Linked DNA regions of Homo sapiens: regions 1, 2, 3, 4, 5 and 7 are each linked to region 6. Evidence: promoter capture Hi-C in 16 types of primary human blood cells and fetal thymus (Javierre and others, 2016). All regions are on one chromosome and are shown on one strand. The core of a region is centred on a gene start or on the middle of the fragment in contact, and the rest is flanking DNA. Distances in the headings are between cores, read along the strand shown.

Evidence for each region. Contacts are between HindIII fragments. The CHiCAGO score rates a contact against its expected background, and 5 or more counts as called.
Region 1: a contact is called between a fragment that was not itself captured here and the fragment with the promoter of EPS15 in region 6, in 2 of 17 cell types (neutrophils and M1 macrophages). The highest score is 6.5, in neutrophils.
Region 2: a contact is called between a fragment that was not itself captured here and the fragment with the promoter of EPS15 in region 6, in 1 of 17 cell types (endothelial precursors). The highest score is 5.7, in endothelial precursors.
Region 3: a contact is called between a fragment that was not itself captured here and the fragment with the promoter of EPS15 in region 6, in 2 of 17 cell types (neutrophils and monocytes). The highest score is 7.4, in neutrophils.
Region 4: a fragment that was not itself captured here is called in contact with the fragment with the promoter of EPS15 in region 6 in 1 of 17 cell types (neutrophils); the score reaches 7.1 in neutrophils.
Region 5: a contact is called between a fragment that was not itself captured here and the fragment with the promoter of EPS15 in region 6, in 9 of 17 cell types (monocytes, neutrophils, naive B cells and 6 more). The highest score is 7.7, in monocytes.
Region 7: a fragment that was not itself captured here is called in contact with the fragment with the promoter of EPS15 in region 6 in 1 of 17 cell types (neutrophils); the score reaches 5.5 in neutrophils.

Annotation. Positions count from the first base shown.
Region 1 is chr1:51,717,139-51,721,000 of GRCh38, reverse strand. All of the region lies in intron 4 of OSBPL9 (oxysterol binding protein like 9), which reads right to left. Among named protein-coding and RNA genes, the nearest start is that of OSBPL9, 100 kb to the right of the region's middle. The HindIII fragment of the contact is 328 bases long and covers 1,534-1,861 here.
Region 2 is chr1:51,304,459-51,307,925 of GRCh38, reverse strand. It overlaps TTC39A (tetratricopeptide repeat domain 39A), which reads left to right. Exons shown (of 18, transcript NM_001297663.2): 7 at 1,850-1,949; 8 at 2,780-2,845. Among named protein-coding and RNA genes, the nearest start is that of TTC39A-AS1, 23 kb to the left of the region's middle. The HindIII fragment of the contact is 761 bases long and covers 1,167-1,927 here.
Region 3 is chr1:51,741,541-51,745,558 of GRCh38, reverse strand. It overlaps OSBPL9 (oxysterol binding protein like 9), which reads right to left. Exons shown (of 24, transcript NM_024586.6): 5 at 1-23. Among named protein-coding and RNA genes, the nearest start is that of MIR761, 93 kb to the left of the region's middle. The HindIII fragment of the contact is 6,462 bases long and covers 1-4,018 here.
Region 4 is chr1:51,694,543-51,698,283 of GRCh38, reverse strand. The region is part of intron 3 of OSBPL9 (oxysterol binding protein like 9); the gene reads right to left. Among named protein-coding and RNA genes, the nearest start is that of OSBPL9, 79 kb to the right of the region's middle. The HindIII fragment of the contact is 3,269 bases long and covers 159-3,427 here.
Region 5 is chr1:51,763,082-51,766,727 of GRCh38, reverse strand. It overlaps OSBPL9 (oxysterol binding protein like 9), which reads right to left. Exons shown (of 24, transcript NM_024586.6): 12 at 747-906. Among named protein-coding and RNA genes, the nearest start is that of MIR761, 71 kb to the left of the region's middle. The HindIII fragment of the contact is 4,533 bases long and covers 44-3,646 here.
Region 6 is chr1:51,517,130-51,521,149 of GRCh38, reverse strand. It overlaps EPS15 (epidermal growth factor receptor pathway substrate 15), which reads left to right and starts at 1,884. Exons shown (of 25, transcript NM_001981.3): 1 at 1,884-1,951. The coding sequence starts at 1,919. EPS15-AS1 (EPS15 antisense RNA 1) reads right to left here and starts at 2,878. Exons shown (of 5, transcript NR_183651.1): 1 at 2,704-2,878. It also overlaps a transcript of OSBPL9 not described here. RefSeq lists silencers at 1,661-1,850, 2,001-2,470 and an enhancer at 1,701-2,629. The HindIII fragment of the contact is 8,390 bases long and covers 1-4,020 here.
Region 7 is chr1:51,670,447-51,674,120 of GRCh38, reverse strand. The region is part of intron 3 of OSBPL9 (oxysterol binding protein like 9); the gene reads right to left. Among named protein-coding and RNA genes, the nearest start is that of OSBPL9, 55 kb to the right of the region's middle. The HindIII fragment of the contact is 5,089 bases long and covers 1-3,674 here.

The DNA.
Region 1 (3,862 bases), core at 448-2,947, 200 kb before region 6:
AGGGTAAAACCCCATCTCTACTAAAAACACAAAAAACTAGCCAGGTGTGGTGGTGCGTGCCTGTAGTCCCAGCTACTTAGAAGGCTGAGGTGAGAGGACTGCTTGAGCCTGGGAGGTCGAGGCTGCAGTGAGCTGAGATTGCACCACTGTACTCCAACCTGGGAAACAGAATGAGACTCCGTCTCAAAAAAAAAAAAAAAAAAAAAAATTCCAATTTGATAACCACCAAAAATAAAATCTACATGAAGTAGCCACAAAAACCATACATATGAGGACAATTAATGCCCAATTTCTTAGCCCAAAGAATAATCATAGAAACCATTTAAATTTTTGAAATATCAACTGATGTATAGCATAAAGTTAAGAAACATAAAGGTCAGTCAGGCGCGGTGGCTCACGCCTGTAATCACAGCACTTTGGGAGGCAGAGGTGGGTGGATCACAAGGTCAGGAGATTGAGACCATCTTGACAACATGGTGAGACCCCGCCTCTACTAAAATACAAAAAATCAGCTGGGCGTCGTGGTGCACATCTGTAATCCCAGCTACTTGGGAGGCTGAGGCAGGAGAATTGCTTGAACCTGGGAGGCGGAGGTTGCAGTAAGCCGAGATCACACCATTGCACTCCAGCTTGGGTGACAGAGCAAGACTCTGTCTCAAAAAAAAAAAAAGAGAAAAAGAAAGAAACATAAAGGTCTATACAACTCAGTTAAACATCTGCATGAGCATCTTCAAACTTGAATCTAAAATACTTGAATCTACAACAATCTCCTGTGTTTTCATTCCTGATAGCCTATAAAAATTTGTATAGCCACACACTGTTACTCAGCTTAGTAACAACCTTAAAACCAAGTTACTTCATTGCCCATATTTGTACTTATAATCAAACTGGCACAACATACTACTTGTCATAGAAGTGACACTGACCAAGTAAATGGCATATCTATATGAAGTCAAAGCCAACTGACCCCATGGCATGTGCTATGCCAAGGAAGTCTTCCCAGTAGTTAGAACAGAGAACACATCATCACGTTCCACATGGTAGTGTACGTATGTCATAGTTTAAAAGAATCTATACCCTAACGATGAGTACCATTTGCACATTGTAAGTAGTGACCCACTTTTAGCAAGGCAATATCATTCATCACATTAAATTAATGTTAATTTAGATTGTATTGCTTTGTATTATGTTTAACTTGAAATTTTCTTTTGGATGTATAGTTCTATAAGATTTTAAACCTAAAAAATTTACACCTGGCTTTATGTTTGCCCACATTAAATAACATTATACTTAATACTTTACTTATATATTGGCATTCACAGCCTGCAAGAGTTTTTTCTAAAATGGGCCCCAATTTACTCAAGTTTATAAAACTGATTTTTATACCTGTATGACATCCAGACAAGCTGCTATAACTCATATTTTTTACAATATAGGAAACTATAAAACCTACAGGATGTAACATCCTGAGTCTTCTTGTGATGATCAATCCCTTACTTGATAATCTCTCAGCATTTAGTTTGTACTAAAGCTTACTAGGGTTAAAAAAAAAAAAGAATCTGAAAAGTTCCCCTCTATTAATCAGTATCATCAGATATCTACTGAATGCCTCTTACTGGTTAAGAAAGAGAGGATTAAGAAGCACAGCACGCCCTCTGGTCTCCCCTTCAAGGAACTTCCTCTTTGGCTGAATGTAAAGACATGAAAAGATACCATAAGCTGACATACAACAAATTTAGAATGACTACTGGAATTCAGCTTCCATAAGAGCCGAAAGGATGAAGAAGATCTTAGTTATCTTCTGTCACCTTCAGTCTATCCTAATTACAATTTGCTTTGGGGAGGAAAGAGAAGACAAGCTTAGTCTTAGCCATGCTGAAGTGGAATTCCAGGGAGACATCTAACTGGCAAAATCCAAAAGGAAAAAAAGTGAGACTAAAGCTACATATCAAAAGAGATATAAAGATTAGGGGGAAAAAGAGTCATCTTACAGAAGGTTTAGCTGAATCCATGAAAACGGTGGGGGCTGCTGAAGGGTGATGGAATTAGGTCACAATCTGCAAGAAAACATCCTGTGGTCAAGGTAATGTATGTAGTGTTAACCTTGGGAAAGAGCAAGAATATGTTTTCTTCGAAATATTCAAAGCAGAGAAATAAAGTACAGGTGAAGTCACTAAGAACTGTTGAAGAAGAAAGCCTTCATTTATGAAGAAGGGAACAGGCTATAATTCGATACTGATTACAATGAAAACAGTCTACTGTGAGGATTCAATTGGAAACCAACAAGAAGTCAGTAAGATGACTACTAAATCGTAACAGATACCCAGTTAAAGTCAGACAAAAATTGTGATAGATACAACCATCTTGCTTTTGTGACCTCTAACAGTTCTAGAAGCAGAAAAATCAGACAACGGGGGCCCTGGGGAATGAAGACCAGAATGGTATACAGACGAACTATCCAATGACAAGAAATTCTAAAGGTGATAGCAAAAACAATATATAAATTTTTAAATTTTTGTGGGTACATAGTAGGTATATATATTTTTGGAGTATAAATATTTTGATATAGGCATGAAATAAGTAATAATCACATCAGGGTAAATAGGTATCCATCACCTCAAGCATTTATCTTTTGTGTTACAATCTAATTATACTCTTCTAGTTATTTTTAAATGTATAATTACTGTTGACTATAGTCACCCTGTTGTGTTATCAAGTAGATCTTATTCGTTCTCATTTTTTTGTACCCATTAACCATCCCCACTCCCCCTACACTTATACGCCCAACCACCCTTCCAGCCTCTGGTAACCATAATTCTATTCTCTAGCTCCATGAGTTCGATTGTTTTAATTTTTAGCTCCCACAAATAAGTGAGAACATGTGAAGTTTGTGCCTGTCTTATTTCACTTAACATCATGACCTCCAGTTCTATTCAAGACAGGATTGCAAATGACAGGATTTCATTCTTTTTCACAGCTGAATAGTATTCCATTGTGTTTATATACCATGTTTTCTTTATCCATTCATCTGTTGGACACCTGGGTTGCTTCCAAATCTTGGCTATTGTGAATAGTGCTGCAATAAACCTGGGTGTGCAGGTATCTCTTCCGTATATTGATTGCCTTTCTTTTGGATATATACCTAGCAGTGGGATTGCTGGATTATATGGTAGCTCTATTTTTAGTTTTTTGAGGAACCTTCAAACTGTTCTCCACAGTGGCTGTACTAATTTACATTCCTACTAATAGTGTATGTGGGTTCCCTTTACTCCACATCCTCACCAGTACTTTGTTATTGCCTGTCTTTTGGAAAAAAAAAAAAAAAGCCATTTTAACTGGGGTGAAATGATATCTCATTGTAGTTTTGGTCTGCATTTCTCTGATGATCAATGATGTTAGGCACCTTTTCATATACCTCCTTGCCATTTGTATGTCTTCTAACAAAACCAGTGATAAAGCAGCAGACCAGAAGGTCTCCACTGGGAAATGGGATGAGCAAAACAAGAAAGTACTAAATGGCCAGGAAAAACAGAGAAGTAGGGGTCAGATCAAAATGAGAGAATAAAAGTTCAGAAGTAAAGTGATAGAGGAAGATGAAGAAAAGAAAACTGTTGTCAAAGAAAACGCTTTTTAACTTAATATTTTGCAGGTGGTTCAGCTCTTAGTAATGACAAGACCAATGGAGTGGAGTTTAATGGCTAAAGTAGATAAAGTTCAATGAAAAAGGAAAACATGGCTGGGAATGGTGGCTCATGCCTATAATCTCAGCACTCTCAGAGGCCAAAGTGGGCAGATGGCTTGAGCCCAGGAGTTCGAGACCAGCCTGGCCAACATGGCAAAACCGCATCTCTACAAAAAAATA
Region 2 (3,467 bases), core at 298-2,797, 210 kb after region 6:
AGGAGGAAAAGAATTCATGGCGATGGATATTGGGGATAGTTGCATAATAATGTAAATGTAGTTAATACCACTGAATTGTACACTTAAAATTGGTTAAGATGTTAAATTTCATGATATGTATATTTATCACAGTAAAAACAAAATGAAAAAAAGAGGAAAAGTAAAAAAGTCTTTTTTTTTTTTTTTTTTTTGAGACAGAGTCTTGCTCTGTCGCCCAGGCTGGAGTGCAGTGGCATAGTCTCAGCTCATTGCAACCTCTGCCTCCCAGATTCAAGCGATTCTTCTGCCTCAGCCTCCCGAGTGGCTGGGACCACAGACATACGCCACCCCACCTGGCTAATTTTTTGTATTTTTAGTAGAGATGGGGTTTCACCACATTGGCCAGGCTGGTCTCGAACTCCTGACCTCAGGTGATCTGCCTGCCTCGGCCTCCCAAAGTGCTGGGATTACAGGCGTGAGCCACCACGCCTGGCCTATTTATCATCTTTATCTCCCCATTTAATGTGGCTGCTTCCCTGCAGGGATATTGTGAGCTTGTTACAAGGTATTGCTAGGGTATAATGTACCATATAGCATGTGGACATCATGTTACCTTGGAGGCCTATGCTAGAATTTTTCTAGAAAAACCAGACAAGTGCTCTGGCCCCGTCAGCCTCCCTACCAGCTGCCAGAACGAGGTCACCAAAGCACACACCTTGTCAGGCCACCCCTTGCCAACTCCCAAGGCTCCTCTTGCTCTTAAAAGAAGTCCTGGGTTATTGCCAAGTTCTTCCTGGGAGGTCACCCTGGCCCTTCTTGCCACATCTCCCACTTCACTCTGCCTTAGGTCATTGGGCCTTCCCCCAGTTCTTCAAATATGCCAAGGTGGTTCCGACCTCAGGGCCTTTGGACGTGCTGTTCTCTCTGTCAGAAACACTTTCTGCACCGGGCTTTCTGTACCAGATTTCAGCTCAAATGTCACCTCCTCAGGGAAGCCTTTCCTATCCCCAGACTAAGTCAGGCCCAAGGACTCTTCTCCTTGGAGCCTGTCATCACCCTCATAGTGACTCAATCGGGGGGCGGGGGGGGGGGGTCTGTCCCTTAAAGTGAGAATGCTGTGGGGGCAATGGCTTGGTGGTTTTGGTCCCTGCTGTCTTCCAGTGCCTGGCACAGAGAAGCTTCAAGCTTGCTAATTGAAAGCCTTCAAAATGCTGTCAGCCCAGGAAGGAGGCAGACACATCATTAAAAGCCTCTGTCCTGCCCCAGGTGGCTGGGCTAGGGGCTCTGTGCAGTTGGTAACCAGGAGAAATAGAGTTGAATTCCAACCAGGAGACTCCAGGAAGACTTCCTGAAGGAGGAGGTGTTTTGGTTAGCCCAGTGGTTTTCAGCTAGGGGTGACTTCCCCCTGTGAGACTTTTGGCAGTGTCTGGAGACATTCTGGATGTCCAGCTAGGGAGACGATGCTACTGGCATCTGGTGCTCAGGGGCCATGGATGCTGCTAAACATCCTACAATGCACAGAACAGCTCCCCTGCCACCCCCACCAACAAAGAATTATCCAGCCCAAAATGTCAGTAGCGCGGAGGCTGAGAAAACCTCTTTTAGATAGGATGTGGAATACGAACAAATGTCCAGAAGCTGCCCATGGCTGAGTGTGCCAGGGCCCATACGGCTGAAATTCAGGGGGTGAGGAGTGTGTTATCATGGTGGGAGATGGGGTTCGAAATTCCTCAAATACCAGCTCTCAGGATTACCAGAACTGTATGAATCCACCACCAGGGAGTTTACCTGAGGCCCAGCTGGAAGGGGTCCCAGCCCCTACCCCCCACCCCCAGCAGTGGCTGAAACAGGACTTGGCATCTCTCTGCAGGGAGCTGGACAGCCTTGTTCAGTCCTCACAATACTGCAAGGGTGAGAACCACCCGCACTTTGAAGGAGGAGTGAAGCTTGGTGTAGGGGCCTTCAACCTGGTGAGTGCTCCTCCTCCATTTCCACAGCACCTGGCTTGAGCTCAGTCTCCCCTTCTGTCCCTGACTCATGTGTGGTCACTGCCAAGTGCCCCTGCACCTGGCTGTGTGCTGGGCACCAGGATCCAGAGGTGACCAGACATGTGGCCAGCCTTCAGGGGCTCACAGCTGGGGTGGGGGTGGTGTGGGCGCTGGAGCCAGCTCCAGAGTCCATCGGTGCATTTCTTCCCAAGTCAGGCCAGTAGCTTGAAATCCACCATGGTGGAACCTTCACAGCACCCGACCTTGGCACACACAATAAATCAGGGCTTTCTCTGCCCTGGAGAGCTGCTGGTTAAACATTTACCAGTGTCAGGGAAGGAGACAGTCCTGAAACCAGCTGATGACTTAGAGGGGACAGAGAACTAAGTCTTGTTCCTGCATGGAGTGGGGGAAGGTTTCCTACGGGAGGGGGTGAGCATCTGTGCTGGCTCCTGAAGGATCCCTAGGAGTTTCCCAGCTGGGGAGGGGCTTCCAGGCAGAGGGAGCAGGAAGGCTGGGAAAACTGCCTGATCAAGGGAGGAGGAGCTTCCCAGGGAAGATTTAGCCTCAGGAACCTAGGTGGCCAGGGGTTTCCTGGCTAGGCTTCCTGGCACCTGCCCATGGACCCCTGATATCTTAGCTGCCATCTACTGCCCGAGCTTTGGAAAACATTGGCTAGAGGCTTTCAAAGTTAGAGGGGTGGCCCTCTCCCCTCCAGGTAAAGCCTGTTAAAGAGCTAGACTTGGGACAGTGGGGGTGGCCCCTGCCCACTCTGGGTACCTTCACAGGCTTGATTGCCTCCTTTCTTGCAGACACTGTCCATGCTTCCTACTAGGATCCTGAGGCTGTTGGAGTTTGTGGGGTTTTCAGGAAACAAGGTAACCACCTGCCTCCTAGCACCCCTGACCTGCTCAGCCCCAGAACTGGGGCTGGGCTGCACAGGGTGGGGCTGACAGGCCACAGGGCCTAGGAGCCCATCCTGGCTCAGCCCCTCTCATTGTATGGCCCTGGACAATGCCCAGACCTCCCTGGGCCTCAGTCTTCTCTCTGGACAAATGGGGCTAGTGATCCCTGCCTGGCCCTCCCAGGGTGCAGAGGCTCTGGGTGGGTGTGGGTGTGAAGGGCAGCTCCATCAGTGGCCCAGGATCACACATTCTCTGAGCCTGACAGGTGTCAGGGGCTGGTCCCTCTCTCCCTAGATACTGCCTCACTTTAAGACTTTGAGTAAGTCCTTCCCCCAAGGACCATTTTCTGGTGCTACCACTTCATCCAGCAGATGCCTGAGGGAAGCCCTACTGGGCATCAGACCTTGAGGAGGAACCAGAGAACTCAAGCACCCAAAGACTTTACTGAGGGCAAGAACCTGAGTACCAACCCCAGGTTGAAGGCAGCAGATCAGGGAGGGCTTTCTGGTGGAGGAGGCCTAGTGTGGTAGAAGGAGCACTGGCCTGGAAGTTAGGAGCTCTGGGTCAGTCCAGCCTCATCCCCTTTTCTCTGTGA
Region 3 (4,018 bases), core at 818-3,317, 220 kb before region 6:
GGAACAAATCCTGAATCCAAACCCTAGAGAAAGAGAATTTGCAATAAATCTACCAGAACCCAAGCAAAGTTTAATAGTACAAAAAATACTTTTCCCTTCATACATGAAGACATTTCAATTTTTAAAATACAGTTCTATTTTGACACAAATAATAGGTCTATTTAACAGTTAGGTCTATTTAAACAGTGGTACATCAATCTTCCTCATTAACTTGGAGCACTGCTTCCCTTCTCAGCAGTTACACATGCTGCTGCTCAAATTGGATTTACTCTTCTCTCCAGAATCACTTTCTTATCTCCCCCAAACCCTGTAATTGGCTCCCAGTCACCACTAGAACAACAGTAATTTAACAAAGGAACATAAACAAAACCCACCTAGGTTACTTCTATTTTCCCCTTTTTCATTCAGTTCATTCCTCCCTTCCCTTAATGTTAACTTCATATTCTCACTGTTTAGTTCTCCCATTCCTCAACCCACCCCATGATCTCTGAAGTTTTCCTCCCTCCTCCCCTACTAAAGAAAGAACCTCTAAATTTTCTCCTCTTCTAAGAGGTGGCCCCTCTCTAAGTGAAAGTAACAACACCTGTCCTAATCAAGTTTCCTACTCACTTTCACCCTTGGCATGAACACTACACTTAGACGTGGTATAGATGTTTATTTATTTAGAAGGCCTACTTATTTCTCGGTCTAAAAGTGCAGCATTTGCATGTCCTACTTTTTGCATACGTAAAGAGTTTAAGCTCCAAGAGCATGGGATTCTTATGTTTTAACTTTAGCCAAAAGAAACTTTTGAGTTCTTAATCTTCTCTGACTGCCACATTTTCATGCCCAGTCATCATACTGTTAAGCAGGGGACTGAGGGTTAGGAACTGCTACTGTAAAAATCCCAACCCAACCACAAAATTCTGCACTAAATGGGTAAAATATACTTGATCAACATACCCATCTCACACTTGACTTTCACTTGTCATCTCCTCCCTGCCTTCGCCCAAAGCATGCTGATTATTTTCACATTCTCATTTTAGTAAACTGAAGCCAAAGTTTATTTTATATTACAGCAACACCTGATCTTTGTATACTTTATCATTAAAGCACTTTTACAACCATTATCTCAAAACATCAAATTAAGATGGTATGGTATTATGGAAACAGTAATGGGCTGGCAAATCTGGTTTCTAATTCTAGTGCATTCACTAACACAATATTGTGGCTGTCCAAATCTGGGTTTTCTTGCCAGCCAAATACGGGCATCCTCCTCCTCCTATTATTAGTACAGCAGCTACTACCTCTACTAAAGACAACAACTAATGACACTATCAATTACTACTATTATAGTACTTTTGTTGCTCTTCCCAAACTAAAATTCAAAAATTTGGAACCAAAGAAAAAATAGAATTTTATTAAAAATCTAAGTCCTATTAAGACCATGGGAAAAATCAACTTATCTCATAATTTGTTTTCTTTTTCAAATTCAAAGGCGATAAATGTCTATTTTACATACATATCAAGAAACTGTTTGACAATGAGTATTACAAAGCCCCTTCCCAATGAGATGACATGTACAAAAACAAAAGTTGAAAAAAAAAATCTTAATAAACAATGTATACAAAATCCAGATATATTTATAAAACTGTGTTTAAACTTCTTCATTTTTAAAGATAACCCAAAGAAGTTCCTGTTAGAGACATTTAAAATATACAGTTTGGTGACAAAAGACATAGAAATGGATAAGTACATCATATTTCATAGATATTAGAGTACTGTACTATGAAAGAAATGAGCAACTTATTTCCATGTTACTGTGCCACAGAAAAATCAGGACTGTTTGGCTTGTTTTTTGGTTTTGTTTCACACAGCAATGTAACATGATTATCAATAATTAACTATCAAGACCCAGTTAAAATCAGCTAAATACATTGTTTTTAGTAAATATTTTAAAAGGTTAATGGCATATTCATAAATGAATAAAAAAAGCATCTAAATGAGAGGGGAAAAGTGATCTTTAAGTATTTTCACTCTTCTGAATCCATTTAGAATTAACATTGTAAAAATCTAACTAAAACATCCTTTTTAAACAAATTACCGATTAGATTAAAAATTGTTCAGTGACTGAATGGAAACAGATTTAAATTACTGCTATCTAAACCTTACCTAAATCAATTCTTCAGAAACAACTTTTTGATGTTTGTAGAATCATATAAACCTCACCTTGACTCTCTTCTTACACTTGCCTCTAGATAGTCTTCCATAACCTTCTTTTAACTCTAGAATAAACTTCACACTTCACAAGGTCCAAGCCAAAGATCTACTCATCAATCCATTTTTCTTTAGGTAATGTGTAACAGGAGGTTTATAATGACAGTCCCAGAACTGGCCCAATCACCCTTGCATAGTAATGCAAAAATTTTTCATGTATTTAAAAGGAAAATTTATGTATATAGTTGCCCCATCTGCAACCAATAAAATATCATGTAAAATTCATCGATAACATGAACAAGTAGTTAACAAGTGTTTTCTCAAATCTAGTAAAACTAATACTCTAGAAGAAAGCACAAGTATGACTTTATATTGTGACTTACAGCAGTCACCTAATTCAACCTCCCATTCACAGAAGTTCTTTTCATAACATCTTTGAAAGTCATCTAGTCTTGTCTTAAGTATCTCATGAGATGAGAAACCCACTACTTCCTAATGTAGAATATTTCATTAAAATTCTCCTGAAGTGTTAACTGTTTCTCTTTCCATTCAACATTTAGAACACTAAGCCACAACACTTATTCATATTAATCCTTTTTAATGGAGATTTATTTTTATTTATTTTTTGAGACAGGGTCTTGCTCTGTCACCCAGGCTGGAGTGCAGTGGTACAATCAGGGCTCACTGCAGACTCAACCTCCTGAGCTCAGGGAATCCTCCCACCTCAGCCTCCCAAGTAGCTGGGACTATAGGCATGTGCCACCAAGCCCAGATAATTTTTTATTTTACTTTTTTTGTGGAGACAGGGTCTTGCTATGTTGCAAGACCCTGTCTCCGCAATAAAATAAAAACTCCTGAGCTCAAGCAATCCTCCCACCTCAGTGTCCCCAAAAGTGCTGAGATTACAAGGTGTGGGCCAATGCGCCCGGCCGAGTTTTAAACAGGACTAAGAATATAGTCCTTTACCATATTGAGGGTGGTCTGTCTTTGAAAAGAACTGAGAATAGGGCAAATTCTTTCAGACAGTGTGACTTCATACTTCTTACAGTAGCTTTTGAGAACAAGTAAGCTGGGAGTCAAGTAGATACACATTCTAGTATTCTGTACTTGCTCTAACATTTATCACATTTTATCATAATTGAATATTTGAGTGACTTCTCTGAAGGATTAAAACTCCACAAGGGCAGGAACTATGCCATTCATTCATCACTATACCCATCAGGGCCAGCTCAGTGTTAAATGAACACACATGGCGCTGGCTACAGTGACTGGAAATTGTTGATGCCACAACATCGGTCTTCCCCCGACCTCCTCTCCCGAGATTTCTCTTACCTTTCTGTTCTCTTTCTCCTATTCTCTACTCCCTCAAGCCTTTTCTCCATGTTGTCTTTCTTTCTCTTTTGTCCAGGTCCTTCAGTAGTAACTGAAGGGATTATGTCGCATTATTGGCACTCAGGACCAAAGAGGTTGCTGCTCTTTGGTTTATTACACTGATGTGAGCCACAGCTCTAATTAGATGATTCCTGTATGAATTCATTTAAAGTTTAAATTATACACAACAATTATAGAGAAATAAAGACAAAATGGTCTGTGATGTAACAAGAAATTAAATTAGAAGAATCTCAATAGAAATTAAACTTCAATCTAACCATAAAATTTAGAAACCTATGTAAAGAAAAACCACTTCTGTGGTGAATATGCTAAAAAAAAAAAGTCTCTGTTTTTCAAAAACACTTTATTAATAAAGCTACTCTAGCCTGGGCACAGGGTAAGACCCTCAAAAAAAAAAGAAAGAAAGAGAGAGAAAGAGAGGTTGGGGGAG
Region 4 (3,741 bases), core at 544-3,043, 180 kb before region 6:
CACCCCAATGTCCCACAAAGCTGTTGCTTTTTAGTATCTCTTAAGCTGCACAGTGTAAAGGCCAAGAGGGCTGACTCTTGGGTCCAAATCCTCGTCTGATACCTAGCTTTGACCTTATTCATTCTGACCTTGGGCAAGATACTTAAATTCTCTAAGCTTTACTTTTCTCATCTATAATCTAAGGATGATAATATTACCTATGGGGATGGTAACAGTACCTCGGCCTTATAAGGTTGTGAGATTTAAATGAGATAATCTGTACAATATTTACCACGATGCCTGACATACATGAAAATACCAATATGTTATTATTATCACATGTTCTATCAATCCAACAGAGAAAACTAGTTCTACTAATCCAGAGAACAATTTGCCAGAGAAAATTAGTAGAGAGGAGATTACTGGTAACTCCTAATTCTCAATAATGCCTGGTTTATATGGAAACAATATAAGGTGCACAGAGGAAAACAGTATTTATCTAGTATGTAGAATACATTTTCAGGATTTTATCATCTTTGCTCATTTATTACATATCTAATCACATTTTCTATATTATACACATTTGAATAAGAATATGAAGTTATTCAAAAGATTTCACTCTTCCAGCGTAACTCACACAACCTAAACTACAAGAAGTAGCTTTTAGGACAACTTTCTAAAACTCCTATACCTTACCATTCCTGATCCACTGCTTAGGAATCTGTCCTCCTAAAGTCATATCTTCTCCTTTAAGACACAAACAACTGTGAATATATTACTGCCTGTATACAAAATAAAGTGGTTATTTGCCTGTTCTGCAATTTAAGTAAAAAAAAAAAAAAAAAAAAAAAGTAACCCCTATAATCAGGAAGGCCTCCTTTTCTCTGAAAGTTATTGTGAAATAAAAACATTACACAAAAACCACATTTACAAGATTAACTGCTGAGACACTGCTCAGGTAGCTACTGAGCCCCAATATGCACGGGGTACTATGTTTGGTATATGAGCAAGGATAAAACAATTCATGATCTCAAGTAATTAAGTCTCCTGAAAAGTACAATAACTTGGGTGGGTAGTATATCGTTTGGTGAGGTATTATCTTCACGCTTTTTTCTTTTTTCTTTCTTTTTTTTTTCTTTTTTTGAGAAATACGGTCTCACTCTGTTGCCCAGGCTGGAGAGCAGTGGCATGATCATAGCTTATTACAACCTCAAATTCCTCAGCTCAGGCGATCCTCCTGCTTCAATCTCCCAAGTAGTTAGGACCACAGGCACAAGCCACTACGCCCAGCTAATTTTTTATTCTTTTAGAGATGGGTGTGGGGCTGGGTCTTGCTATGTTGCTCAGCTGGTCTTGAACTCTTGGCCTCAAGGGATCCTCCTGCCTAAGCCTCCCAAGCAGCTGGGATTATAGGCATGAGCCTATATCCCAACTATCTTCACCCATTCTATCAGCCTCTGTCAACTAAGCAAAAAAGATAAAAATAAAAAATAAAAAAAAACGGGACAGGGGAGCTTTTAAAGAATTAAAGTTAGTTTTATTTAGAAGTCTTACTGAGGACTGTTACCTAGGAGAGTCTTTTAGAGAATTTTTGTTAGACTGTTTCAAAGTAGGGTTTTAGACACAGTTTATAAATTGGTGGTGGCAGTTTTGTATGTGCTTGTAAGTTATAGTAGAGCAAAATCTCATTAAAGTTTGGGTGTAAGGGCATATCTGGTTATATATTACGGAGGCATAATCACTAATCTTGTTGGACATTATCTTACGTGCAGAAAGAGGCAACGACTAGAATCACTGAACTTGCCTTTTCTAAAAATGCAGTGATTTAAGCTGGAGATGTGGGAAACTGTGTTCTATCTTATTTATTGTCTTTAGGGCTTTTTGTTGTTGTTGTTGTTGTTGTTTTTAGAGGACTGTGCTCAGTCACTGAGTCAGGGCCTTTGTGAAATTTTGTTGGCAAGGGATTTTGTGAAATTCTGGCAAGTAGAACAAGCAAACATCAAACATTCTCATTTTCTTAAATTTGCTGCTTTGTCTCACACCTCTAATATCTTTGCTTACTAGAATTCTATTCACTCTTCTGGGCTACGCTACAATGTCACTTTCTCCACCTATGTTGCTCATGGTGAGAGCAGCTGCTCTCTCCTTCCTTAAATTTATTCAAATATTCCAATGCTCAGGCAATATATAAATACATACACCATGTACCAGTCATTGTCTTAGGCATTAGGGACACAAATTGGATCAACAGTTTAGAGCTCTAGTCCAGCAATAATCAGCGTCCAAATCTACCTTCCCGGTTTTACTTTCCCACATACTCTTCCATGAACCACTACATTCTGTTAGATTGTATGTACTGTTCACATGACACGATTCTCTGCTTTTGCTCAAGTTGTTCCCTCAGCTGGAATGCCTGAGCCCCATCTCTAACTGTAAATAATAAAAGCTAAACCTATTGAGCATTTAATTTGTGTCAGCACGGTTCTAAGCATATAACATGTATTAACTAAATTTTCACAACAACTACATGAGATAGGTATTATTATTATCCTTATTTTCTAGAATAAGGAAACAGAAAAGTTTAGTATTTCACAACGACATAGCACCTAAAAAGCAGCAATGAGAATGGAATCTCTAGGCTTCAGACACCCCTAGTTCCGTTAAATAAACTCACCCCATCCCATTCTGTTTTCGCTGAACAAAGTTCTTCTTAAGGAATAACAATATAAACTTTTCCACAGTTTGGAGATATTATAGCAAACAGAAAGAATGAACGACAGAAACTCTGGTCAGGAAACTTGGGTCCAAAAGGGGTTAATATCACCAACTACCTCATGGTTCCACTGTGAAAATCAGGGGAAATAAGGTATGTAATAACACTGGGAATCCAACGAGATTGGGGTCCTCAGTGCAAAACTATTTTCGTACTAATACTGAAACATAATCTGCGTTTGTCATGTTTGCAATGATGCTGTAAGAACAATGGTGGTAAAACTGCTGGCACACGAGCACAAATCAAGGCAATGGCACCAATCAGAACTGGTAGTCACTAAATTCTTTACCACTACATGCTTGCAGGGAAAAATAAAACATTACTATTTCTTTTAAGAATGCCCTTGAAGAAAAGCAGTAAACATCATCAAATTTTGACCCTCGAGTAAATATTTAATACATAGTCTCTGTGACAAATGGGAAGCACATATAAAGTACTTCTGCTACACACTAAAGTATAACGGTTATCTCAAGGAAAAGCATTTGTGCAAATGTCTGAGTTGGGAACTAATGGGCACTTTGTTAACAGAATATCATTTTTACTACAAAGAACAAATGACAAACTAAATTATTCACTCTCGGGTGTTTGGCAAACATTTCCCCGAAAATGAATGAAGTGAGTTTGTCATTTCAGGAAAAATTGACAACATTTATTGCCAATTATAAAATTCAAGCTTGTAGGCAAACATTAGAATTTTGGAAAACATGTATTCACCAGCCACCACGACCTTGACAGATTCTGAAAACTTAAAGCCTTTTCTGATTAGTTTGGAGCAATATCAACAAATGTAATTTTTTTATGTCATAAAATGAAATGTGTCAATATTTGGAAGATCCATATAATTCAGTAAACCGATTTGATTTTCAAATAACCAACGCATGATGTTACAAACTCATACAAAGCATAAAAGATCTATTCAAAGTGCCACACAAACCAATGGATTTTAATGTAATAAAAATATTTTCATATAACGTCATTAATACAATTTC
Region 5 (3,646 bases), core at 1,061-3,560, 250 kb before region 6:
GTGGACTTCCATTTCCCTGTAAGTAGACTTGCAATAAAAAGCTTTTCTTTCCTCAAAAACCTGGGACTTAGTAATGGCTTCTAGCACATTGGGCAGCAAGCCCCTTTTGCTCCATAACACTGTAGGAAATAAATTTCTGTTGTTTATAAGCTACCTAGATTACTGTATTTTGTTATGGCAGCTTAAAGGGACTAAGATACCATACCACGTATTTCATTAGATTATAAATGTCTGCCTATTCCCCCAAAAGTTCCCTGTGGGCAGGGCCTGGATCTTTGTAACCTTGATATCAACCTAGCACAGTGCCTGGCTGATAGGTGTTGAATATTTCCACTCTAATTAAAAAAAGAAAAAAGTAATAGAAACCTCTTATTTGTATAATGCTTCATAGCTTATTCACTCTCATTGGACCCTCTCCTAATGTTGGTACTGTAGAAACGGCCAGGGTTCAACTAATAACGCTGGCACATTACTATAGGTGATGCTATTTATTCCACTTGGATTAACTTAGGACTAAAATCAAAACTCTCACAGAACTGGCTTTGCTCAATAAGCCAACCAAAAACAAGTTGTCCATACAACTATTATACATCAATAAAAAAACTTCTATTAAAAAGGTTGCCCTTTTAATTTTCCCAAATAATAACTGATGAGGCAAGTCTGTCATTAACACTAGTCTCAAAATCAAATTAGATTTTTAAAAATCAGGAGAATCATTTAAATACATATTCTGTTCATCTACTCACTCTATTAAGCGCTTTGGGGATGAGCCACTTTGATGGAATTCATCAGCATCATAAAATTCATCTTCACTGCTGGAGTAAGAGAACTCTGGGACTGTATTTGGAGACAAGTTCACGTGGCTTGGAGAAGTGAGACTGCTACTCGGTGGTGAATGGCCACTGCCTAGGAAGTTAAAAGGGTTTTAGAGAAAAATATTGGTGAAAGAGAAGAAACTAGGGAGATGGAGTCAAAGCAGACTTTTCTAAAATCAAAAAAGAGTTTGGTTAAGTTTGTAAAAGTCGCTACAGTATTTATAAAGAAAATCAACATTTAAACTCCACACAGAAAATGGCAAATCATGATATAAAATGAGGACACAGCCTTTTAAATAAATGAAACAAAAAGCTATGTCCTCATTCTATAATTAAAGATTATCATTAATACTAGGAAGGGGGCCCTTTTGATTATATGAGTTGTGGAGTTGCAAGTCCAACAACAGATATGATTACAATGGGATGCCGGGACTCTTATTTTACACTGCAGATCCAGATACCTAAAAATGCAGCAGTGAGCCACTGGGAATGCAAAATGAAAAGAATATTAAGACCACATAAACATTAAAATATTGCAGGATATCACATTCCTATCATTCAATATTTTTTGGCAATCACATGGAAAATACACACACCATCCAAATTCCTCTCCTCTTTTCCACCTAAGTCAGGGGCTCAGAGGTGGAGATAAAAATAGAGGACTACGATGAGAAGAATGCAGAAAATGAAAAGATTCAGAAGAACATTTTTCTATTCCTAAATAGTCTAACTAAAGAAATGGAAATTAATGAAGACCCAGACAAAGAAGCCTGCCATCTAATCTCTGAGATGATCATCTGGTACCTTATCTACTAGTAAAGCAAGAACAAAAAAGTATCAAACCAATCGACAAATGGAGTATTAAGATCAATTTAACTTACTGAGCATTTAAGGGCTGTCAGTCAGGCAATTTATACTAATCTACAGATGTCTGGTGAAGACTAAAGTTTATTAAGACACTGATGGCAATCTGAAAGCCAGGGCCACAGTTCTGGAAGAAATTGAAGACAGCAATAAAAATGAATCCAGGCTAGGCACAATGGCTCATGCCTGTAATTCCAGCACTTTGGGAGGACCAGTTGGGAGGACTGCTTGAGGCCAGGAGTTCAAGACCAGCCTGTGCAACAAAGTGAGAGCCCCATCTCTTAAAAAAATAGATAAATAAATTAGCTGGGCATGGTGGCATGTGCCTGTGGTCTCAGCTACACGACAGGCTGGGGCAGGATCACTTAATCTGAGGAGGTCGAGGCTGCAGTGAGTTGTGTTTGTGCCATTGCATTACAGCCTGGGTAAACAGAGTGAGACCTTGTCTCAAAAAAAAAAAAAAAAGAATCCAGAGTCACTTACGGATTTTTTGCCCATTCCTATATGTATGGTTCAATAGTTGTGAAAAAAAGCACATCAGTTTGCCACATTTAGTCATCATATTCACAAAGGTATTTTAAAAAGATAACACAAAAAGTTTAACCCCTAAAAGGTAATGCTTATTTTGGAAATTCCAAAGGTAGCTCACCTTATTAGTAAATAACTTCATATTCTTTTTATTACCCAACAGAAAAAGTAAGAGAGAAAAGCAGCTTTTTCTTATTGGAATAAAAAAAAAATTGATCAAGAATTGCAAATGATTAAGTAGCATGCAAATATTCCAGGTGATCACACAAGTGAAACTGTATCTAAGAAGAAAAGTTTGAGTGGGAACTGCAAACAAAAGATCTGAGATTTACTTAGGAGAGCAAACATTTTATCTTATTCCTTTATTTCTTTTTTGTATTAACAAGAGAAGTAAGGGAAAGAAAAGTGGAGAAAATGAAGTTAGGATGAAAAATCAAATAAGATATAAATCACAGGAATTTAATTTTAAATTTTTCTTTAAATCTACTCTAAAGTGTTAGATTTTTGAAATACCTTCAACTGAAATAGTTTTCAGAAGATTATCTTCTGGAAGTAATTTTTACAAAAATTAATATACATAAGAAGAGCTTCTCACTTTCTCAAAGTCTGTTGCTAGTTTTACGTATTTCCAAACAGAAAAATTTTGGAATTTTGGTTGTTTCAAAATTCCAACATAAAAATACGAACAACAACAAACAGGTACTATTTTTTAAATGAAGAAGAGGTGACACAGCTCAGGAAATACAGAAGTCAGCCAAAATATTTCAATTTCATTATTCAAATTGCTTATCAGCCTTTTCCCAAGAGCTTCAAGTAAGAGAGCTATTTTTTTTCTTTCAAAATTCAAAGGCAACTGCCCATGCTGTTAAATAGTAAAGATCAAAGTAATAGCATCAGTACTTTTACTAATTCGAATTTTTTAAATCACAGGGTAATTATTCATCATTACACAGGAAAAATCCTACCCGGGAAAAAAATCTGAGGATGAACAAAAGGGGCTGATCTCCCACTTCTTCAAGAGTGGTTTTGGTTTTGGTTTCCAGGTTTAACAGTGTGAAAAGTGCTAGATGCTTCCTTGAGTTTGGTTCTACAAGTTATTCAACATACATTTAATTAATTTTAAAACAAGATAAATCTAGTATCTAACACTGATAGTATCCCTGTAAAACAGAGAAAAAATAAAGACCCTAAGCCTAAACGAATTAAGAAAATGCAGGCTGGGCGCGGTGGCTCACACCTGTAATCCCAGCACTTTGGGAGGTGGAGGTGGACAGATCACCTGAGGTCAGAAGCTCGAGACCAGCCTGGCCAACATAGTGAAATGCCGTCTCTACTAAAAATACAAAAATTTGTGGGGCGTGGTGGCGCACATCTTTAATCCCAGCTACTCAGGAGGCTGAGGCAGGAGAATCACCTCAACCCAGGAAGTGGAGGGTGCA
Region 6 (4,020 bases), core at 635-3,134:
CACTATACTATGCTGCTTTGTCTATCAGTTGTATAACCCTGGGCAAATCACTTAGCCTCTGTGACCCTGCATTACCTCATTTGTAAAGTGAGTATGACGATTACTTCCTTTTAGAGTTGTGAAGCTCAAATGTGCTAATATAAAGTAGAAAACACCGGTAGAAACACCGGTTGTGGTTATGGCTGATAAGTGTACCAAAGTGAAGTAATGTAAAACAGTATCTCTTATTCTCTCTTCAGTTAAAGAGATTAGCAGCAAAAAAGAAGCCAAGGAAGATGCTCTTGAATAAGTGGTTACTCACCAGACCTATATGGCTTGCTCTTGTTAGCTGGCCTTTGCCAGAAGGAGTCTGAGTAGAATTAGGAGTTCCTTGGGAAATTTCTGGAATGGTTTGCTTGTGGAGGCAATAGTCTAAAAACTTAGGTGGGGCTAACTCCATCCTGGGTCTTGTTCAGTTGTCCCTCCTACCACGGGGACTGCTATGATAATGGTAATGGGTGTAGGCCTGATAGAGTTGTGGTTTGTTGTAATGGGAAGCCATCGTGACTAAGAAATTAAGACCAATTCGGGCAAATACATTTATTGAGGCCTCTGTGGTAGGCTAAACTATGAGGGAGATAAAGCAGTGAGTCAGCCCCTTGTCCTCAAGGATTTTACAGTGCAGTGAGGTGGAGACAAACCCTCAACTAACGCTTACAGATAAGGCAGAGTATAAAAACGGTCACATCAGAACAACTTAGAGGTGGGGTGTGGAGTTCCTAGAAGGCTTCTTGAAGTAGGTGGTATATACTCTGAGACTTTGAAGATGAATTTCAAGTAACTGGGTATTCCAACTGAAGGTTGGCAGCATCAGAAGGTGTAGGATGTGTTATGTTTAATATAGGCAGGAACGAAGGCCTTTACTGAGCATGCACTGTAATGCTAGGGTCTGACGATATAGAAATATATTGAAAACAGTTCTTGCCATTGAGGAGCTCTTAATCTAGAGGGATAGATAGGTGTAAACTGTCATTAGGGTGATGACTTCACAAGGTAGAGAAGAAAGGTTATAAAGGAGAGTGTGTAACTCTGACATAAGGAAGAGAAAAAGATACTTTGCAAAGGAGGTGAAACTTGAATTATGTCCTGAGAAAGAAGGAGGAGTTTGCTAAGTGGATGATGGGAGAAGCTAGGAGTGCTACAGGCACCAGCGTTCCCTTGTTAAACAATCTAAATGTGACAGGCACCAGGCAAATACATTTTTGCTTCCCCTTTCCAAATGGATTTTGGCTGTGGGAGGGAATGACTTAATGTCTTCTTTTCCAATATACTAGCAGATGGTTAAATATTTACAGTTAGACTTGGATTCTAATTCAGCTATATAATTAGCTGTATGACCTTAGTAAGACACTTATTTGTGTTTCAGTTCCTTCATTCATACAATTCAAAAAATAAGAGTCTAGTACAGAGCCTGGCATATATAAAGTGCCATTATTATTTTCTATCATTATCTCATTTAGTCTTTGTAAGTAACTGGGCCTCTAGTTACAATTTCCCCCATTTTTCAGAAGCAGGAGCTCAGCGTAGGTAGGTGGCCTGTCTGAAGTTCACAGGTCAATCTGCAGTCGCCTCCGCAGCCCGTCCGCTTTAATTTTATGTCCGCGCCGGGTTTTCCAAGGCGGCCCCGGGGGCAGGCTCTGGTCCGGTGGCCGAGACTCCGGCGCCAGGGTTTGGGCGGCGCCGCGGCCGGCTCCGGCGGGCGGGCAGGCGGGCGGGGCCAGGCGGGGCGGGGCGGGCGTGGGGAGGGAAGTTGTGGAAGTTAGGGGAGACGCCCGCCCGCCCGCCCCGGCCTCGCCTGCGGCCGCTCCCTCCGCCTCCTCCCCGCCCCGAGCCCCAGTCAGCCCGTCTTCCTTCCCCTCCCTTGCATGATGGAAACACCATGGCTGCGGCGGCCCAGCTCTCTCTGACACAGGTAACGCCACACGCCCGTCCGCCGGGCTTGGCCGGCCGGTGCCCCCTCCCCCACCGCCCTCAGCTTCGCCGACTTCTTGGCTTGTGGGCCAAGCAGGCAGCTTCTTGGCTTGTGGGCCGGGCGGCCGGTGTGTGTGAGGGAAAGCGGGTGCGACTGCGGGAGGGCGCCCTCCGGAGCCGGAGCCCCCCTGCGGCCGCCGCGACCTCGCCCAGGGTCGTCGGGCGCCTCCTGCCCCGCCCCGCGCGGCCCTCGCCGCCCTCCGCGCCGCTGCCGAGTGGACTGTGACCCGGCCGCGCTCTGCCGGTGCCGGGCCGGCTCCCGCGGGGCAGCTTTCACCTACCCAGGAAGTTTCCTCCCACAGGGCCGCACGCATCCCAGGTGAGCTCCTGTTGAGCTCGCGCGGGCCGGCCGCACCCCCGGGCCGCACGAGGCTCGCCCGCCAGGCCGGCTGCGCGCCGCCCCCAGTAGGAGTTGCCTTCCAGAGCCGGACGCGCAGGCCCCCCAAGCCAGTCTTTCCTCTCCAGACCTGCCTTTCTCCCAGGGTCCGACGGAAGCCCTCCCTTCCCAGAGTTTAATGTAGTTAGCCTCGCCTCCAAAGAAGTCTCATCCTACTCAACTACCCACTCTGCCGGCCCCTTCCTCCGTTCAGCCTCTCCCCCCTCCTGATCAGGTTTCCTTCTGGGTCAGACCCCCAATGCAGCCTTTTGCCACCCACGTCTGCTTCCACTTCAACTTCCCCTCGGGGGGCTCACGCCTGATCGCTGTCCAGGTGGATCCCTTTAACGGGTGTGGTGGCTCCGCCAGTCTTGGTGCCAGGAACGGCCTCCCGGGGAGCACTTTTCTTGGGGGGAATCCTCAGCAAAACCTGTTCTCGAGCTTCCCTCTTGCCTCGTTGCTTCCTGTCAAAGTCCAGTCCTTGTGCTTCTCAGAAAACCTCTAAACATCACTCACACTGGGAACCTGGTCCCTCCCTCTCTGTAAAGAAGCCAATTACAATGTAAACATGGTGTCCGGGATGATAAGGTGACAGACACCTGCCAGTTCCTTCCTGCTCCTGTGACCCAAACTCTCCCCCGCGTCTCCTCAGACGGTTCTCTCCAGAGCTGGTGGCGCGTGCTTCCCGATTGGGGCCCATCCCGTCTTCCTTGCCTGCATTGTGGTATCTCACTGCCATCTTGTACTCCTTGGCCTAGATTCGTCGGTGCTTCTAAGGCTTTAGCGCTGGGATAGGGCAAACATTTCGGCAGTGGAGTTTTCTGTGTTTAAAATCAAGAGGCTTTGGGGTGCTTTGCCTAGCACTGTAGGATAGAGAGAAAAAAATGTTTTCTCAGAAACCAGGAGTCACGTACATGCTTCATGTAAAATAACTAACCCGTGTTTGCAGGAATTCTAAGTGTCATAAGGAAAGTCTATTTCCCAGTTTTTTTGATGGTGGTGGTGGTTGTCCTGTTCTGACAAGCAGAGAACCCTTTAACATGGAATGTGGTGGTTTAGTCTTGGTTATGTATGTTTGGAAGGGTCCTCCCAAAACTCAAATTTGAACAACTACAGCACTGACTTTTAGGTATTCACTTTCTGTGAGTCTAGTTAGTGACTTGCATTAAACAAGATCCCTGTTGGCAGGCTGTTGTTTTCTGGCTCTGTTGGCCAATTCTGGCAGGAGTTTTCCCTTGAAGATTTTGTGCTCTTAAAGACTTCCGTAAAATTGCTTCTCAGTTGTGTGCATACTTTATTCTCTCCCTGGGTAATACCATGTTTTTAGCTTCTATTTACATCATTCATCTCTGGAGAATTGCTTCAAGCTCTGTCAGTTTTATAGCCATTTAAAAAATTTACATATGTTCTTGGGTTATATATTTAGGTATTAATGTGTACACAGTAAGTACGGAATCAGTAGTAGCTATTATCCTTCAGTGCCTCACATATGAGATAATATACATTGGTGGTTAATTTTTATTGATAATTCAAATAAGTAAATTCAGAATATTCTGATTTTAAAACATGAAGAGGCAATAAGAGGGATTACGAAGGCACACGAAAAAATAACATTTCCAGTTGCTAGTATACCC
Region 7 (3,674 bases), core at 397-2,896, 150 kb before region 6:
TGCCACTACACTCCAGCCTGGGTGACAGAGCAAGGCCCTGAAAAAAAAAAAAAAAGAAGAAGAAGAAAACAAAGGAAAGAAAGAGAGAGGGAGAGGAAGGAAGGAAGGAAGGAAGGAGTTGACAACATCCAACAGTAAGCCAAGCCAAGAGCATCACCCTTAGTACCCAAATTCTCTCACCTCCCATTTCTGAGCAATTACCAGTTCCTACAGATTAAAAAAAAAAAAAAAACTTTTTTAGAGACAGGGCATCACTATATTGCCCAGGCTGGAGTGCAGTGGCTATGCACCAGGTGTGATCATAGAACACTACAGTCTTAAACTCCTGGGCTCAAGTGGTCCTCTGGCCTCAGCCTCCTGAATAGCTAGGACTACAGGTGCATACCACTGTGCCCCAGTTCCTATAGATTTTTTAAAATCTCAAATCTAGTCCATTTTCCTCCCTATTATCACTGCTTTAATCTATTTAAGGTCTCATCAACAACCACAGCTATGTTATAACACTATGAATAAACTGCCCATGCTCCAAGCCAAAGACACTGCTCCCACCTGTGTGTTAGATCCCATTCTCTCTTGCTTTCTCCAGGACACTGATCCAGCAACTCTCTCCTTTCTCTCTTGCATCATCAATTCTTCCCTGTTTACTGAATCACTGCCAACAACATAGAAATGCTATTATTTCTCTTATCCTACAAAAACAAAACAAAAGCTCCCTTGCTCCCATTTCCCCTTCCGGTTACTGCTATATTTCTCATCTTCCCTTTACATCAAAACTTGAATGCACTGTCTCCACTCCTATCTTAAAATCACTCTTCTCAAGGTTACCAATAAACTTCTCAGTATTAAATCCTGTAATCATTTCTCAATCCTCATCTTATTTGATCTGTCAGTAGCATTTGACATAGTTGCTGATCCTTCTCTCCTCCTAGAAACACCTTTTCTTGTGGCTTCCAAAGTACCACATTCATTTGGTTTTCCTCCTCCTTTTTGGTTGCTTCTTCTCAATCTCTTTTGCTGGTTTTACCTCATCTTGCGCCCTCTCAATAAATGTTTGAGTGCCCCAGGGCTCTGTAGTTGGACCTCTTTTCTCTCAACATTTATTCCCAAATTCTTGTGGCTTTCAATACCATCTATGTGCCAATGACTCCCAACTCTATTTCTGCAGACCAAACTTTTCCACTGAACTCCAACTGCCTACTTGACATCTCCATTTGCCTATTTGGTGGACATTTAAAACTTGTTTAGTAAACATGTCCAAAGCTAAGCTCTGATGCCCACATTTCCCTCACCCTCCCAAAACTAGTTCCTCCTGCAATCTTCCACTTCAGTTAATGGCAACTCCATTCTTGTTACTCAACCTAGACTTGTCTTTCTGTCATATGTTACAGCTCAACCTTCAGAATAAATATACTGTCATACAATGAAGTATTACTTAGCAATATAAAAGGAACTATTAATATATACAACAACATAGATGAATCTTAAAAACATTATGCTGAGCTAAAATAAAGCCAGAAAAGAGAGTACATATGGTATGATTCCATTTATGTGAAATTCTCCTAACAAAACATCTATTCTACAATGATAGAAAGCAGAAAAGTAGTTGCCTGGGGCCGGGGGCTGGGGCTGGGGACTGACTGACAGGAGCATAAAGGAATCTTTTGGAGTGATGGAATCTATATCTTGATTGTGGTGGTAGTCATGAGTAAATAAACTGATTAAAATGCCTAACTGTATATTGTGTACATTTTATTGTATGTTAATTACACCTCAATAAAGGTGATTAAACATGCACACAATTCGACCACTTCTCACTATCTCCCCATCTCCACTGCTACCATGTGGGAGCCACTACCACCTCTCTTCTGGTTTACAACAGCCTCTTACTGCAGAAATAGTTTCCCTACTTCTGTCCTTGCCCCTCTGAATTTTACTCCCAACACAGTGGCCAGAGTCATCCTGTTAAAACATAAATCACACCATGTCACTCCTCTGCTCAAAACCTTCTAATGGCCTTTTATCTCAGTCAAATTCAATGCCCTTATAAAGGCCTCATATGGTTGGACTTCCTGTGTCCTCTCAGATTTCATTCTCCATTACTCTCCACCCATGGTTATCTGCACTCCAGCCAGAGCTGACCTCTAGCTGTTCTTCAAATATATGAGTATAAACTACAAAAAGAAAAACAAAACAAAGTATATGACTGTGTTGGGGAGGAAGGCAGGGTGGGTACGTCATTCCAGGCAAAGAAATGATGTATTCACCCCACCTCCCCCACCAACATAGCCATATACTTTGTTCCCTGACTTTCTTCAGCTCTTCACTAAAAAGGCACCATCTCAGTGAGTCTTTCCCTAGCTACCCTATTTAAAATTTCAACACTTCCCCTCTCCCTGCAACCTCACCTCTATTTCATTTTCTCCTTTCGTATTTTATTTTTTTCTCCCCAGGACTTATCACTCTCATTTACTTATATTTTACTAACTTATCATGTTGATCGTGTTGATTACCTTTCTCCTTTCCTGGAATGGATGACTCAAGGGGCAAGGAATTTTATCTGTTTTGTATACCACTGTATCCCCAGAATAATGTCTAAAATAGATGTTGAATGAATAAATGAATGTATCTGAACAAACTCTAGCTTTCCCTTTAATAGTTGACAGTAGAATTTGTTTTATAATGCATCAACTGATATTTCATTTGCTTAAAAAAAAACTGGTGTATTCAATAAAAACTTCAGCACATTTAAAGATATGTTCACATATATAGCTAAAATTTGCTTTCAATTCTAATCAAGAATTTAAGATCTCTCAGACACTGATAACTTTGTATCAAATTTGCAGGGATTTTATGATCAAGGACCTATGAATGTGAAATAGCTCTCATTAACGAAAAAAAAATACAGTCTTACCAAGTTCTTTGCAAAATCCAGATCTCATGCTAAAACTCCCATAACTACTACAATAGAAAATAAACTAATTATTCTGACAGTTTCAGAACTATGAATCCATTTTTAAAATGTGCATAACTCTTATCATTTAAATCCTTCCTGAGGAATATTTCTTGTTTTATAAGCCAAATAAGTATGAGAGTGCCAAAGGGGACATAAATAATTTAAAAGTAAATCAGAAGGTAGAGGTACAGCTTCTGAGGGTCCAAAGGAGGTGTCTCCTTCTTAGTAACTGCAGAGAAGAGAATTCCATACTGCAGCCTTACCTGCACCCAGCAGCTCTTTCTTGAAATGCATTAAAATATTCAACTTCATTCAAGTAAAGAGTTCCAGAGTGTAGGAATTACCTGCTGATTTATAGGCAGCATTACATATTTAACTTAAAAATAAAAACTCTGGGCTTTCATAATAGGATTTAAAATGTTTTATGAAGTTAAATATAGTAGAAAATTTCAGGACAGCATCGTTATTAAAGCAGCTCTGAATAAATTATATCATCAAACACAGTAAATATTTTAAGGTTATGTGGAAGAAAGCATTAGAGATATCACTATTGAGTACACTGGTTTAGGTTTGTTGAATATAACCTGCATCTTTCATTACTATCTGTCAATTTCTGAAAGAAGACAATGAAGAAAAATAACTGCAATTCACTATCCTAGCACAAAAAGACAACAGCTGCCTAAACACCTCATATAACATATCTGGCCTCTGTTAGACTTCA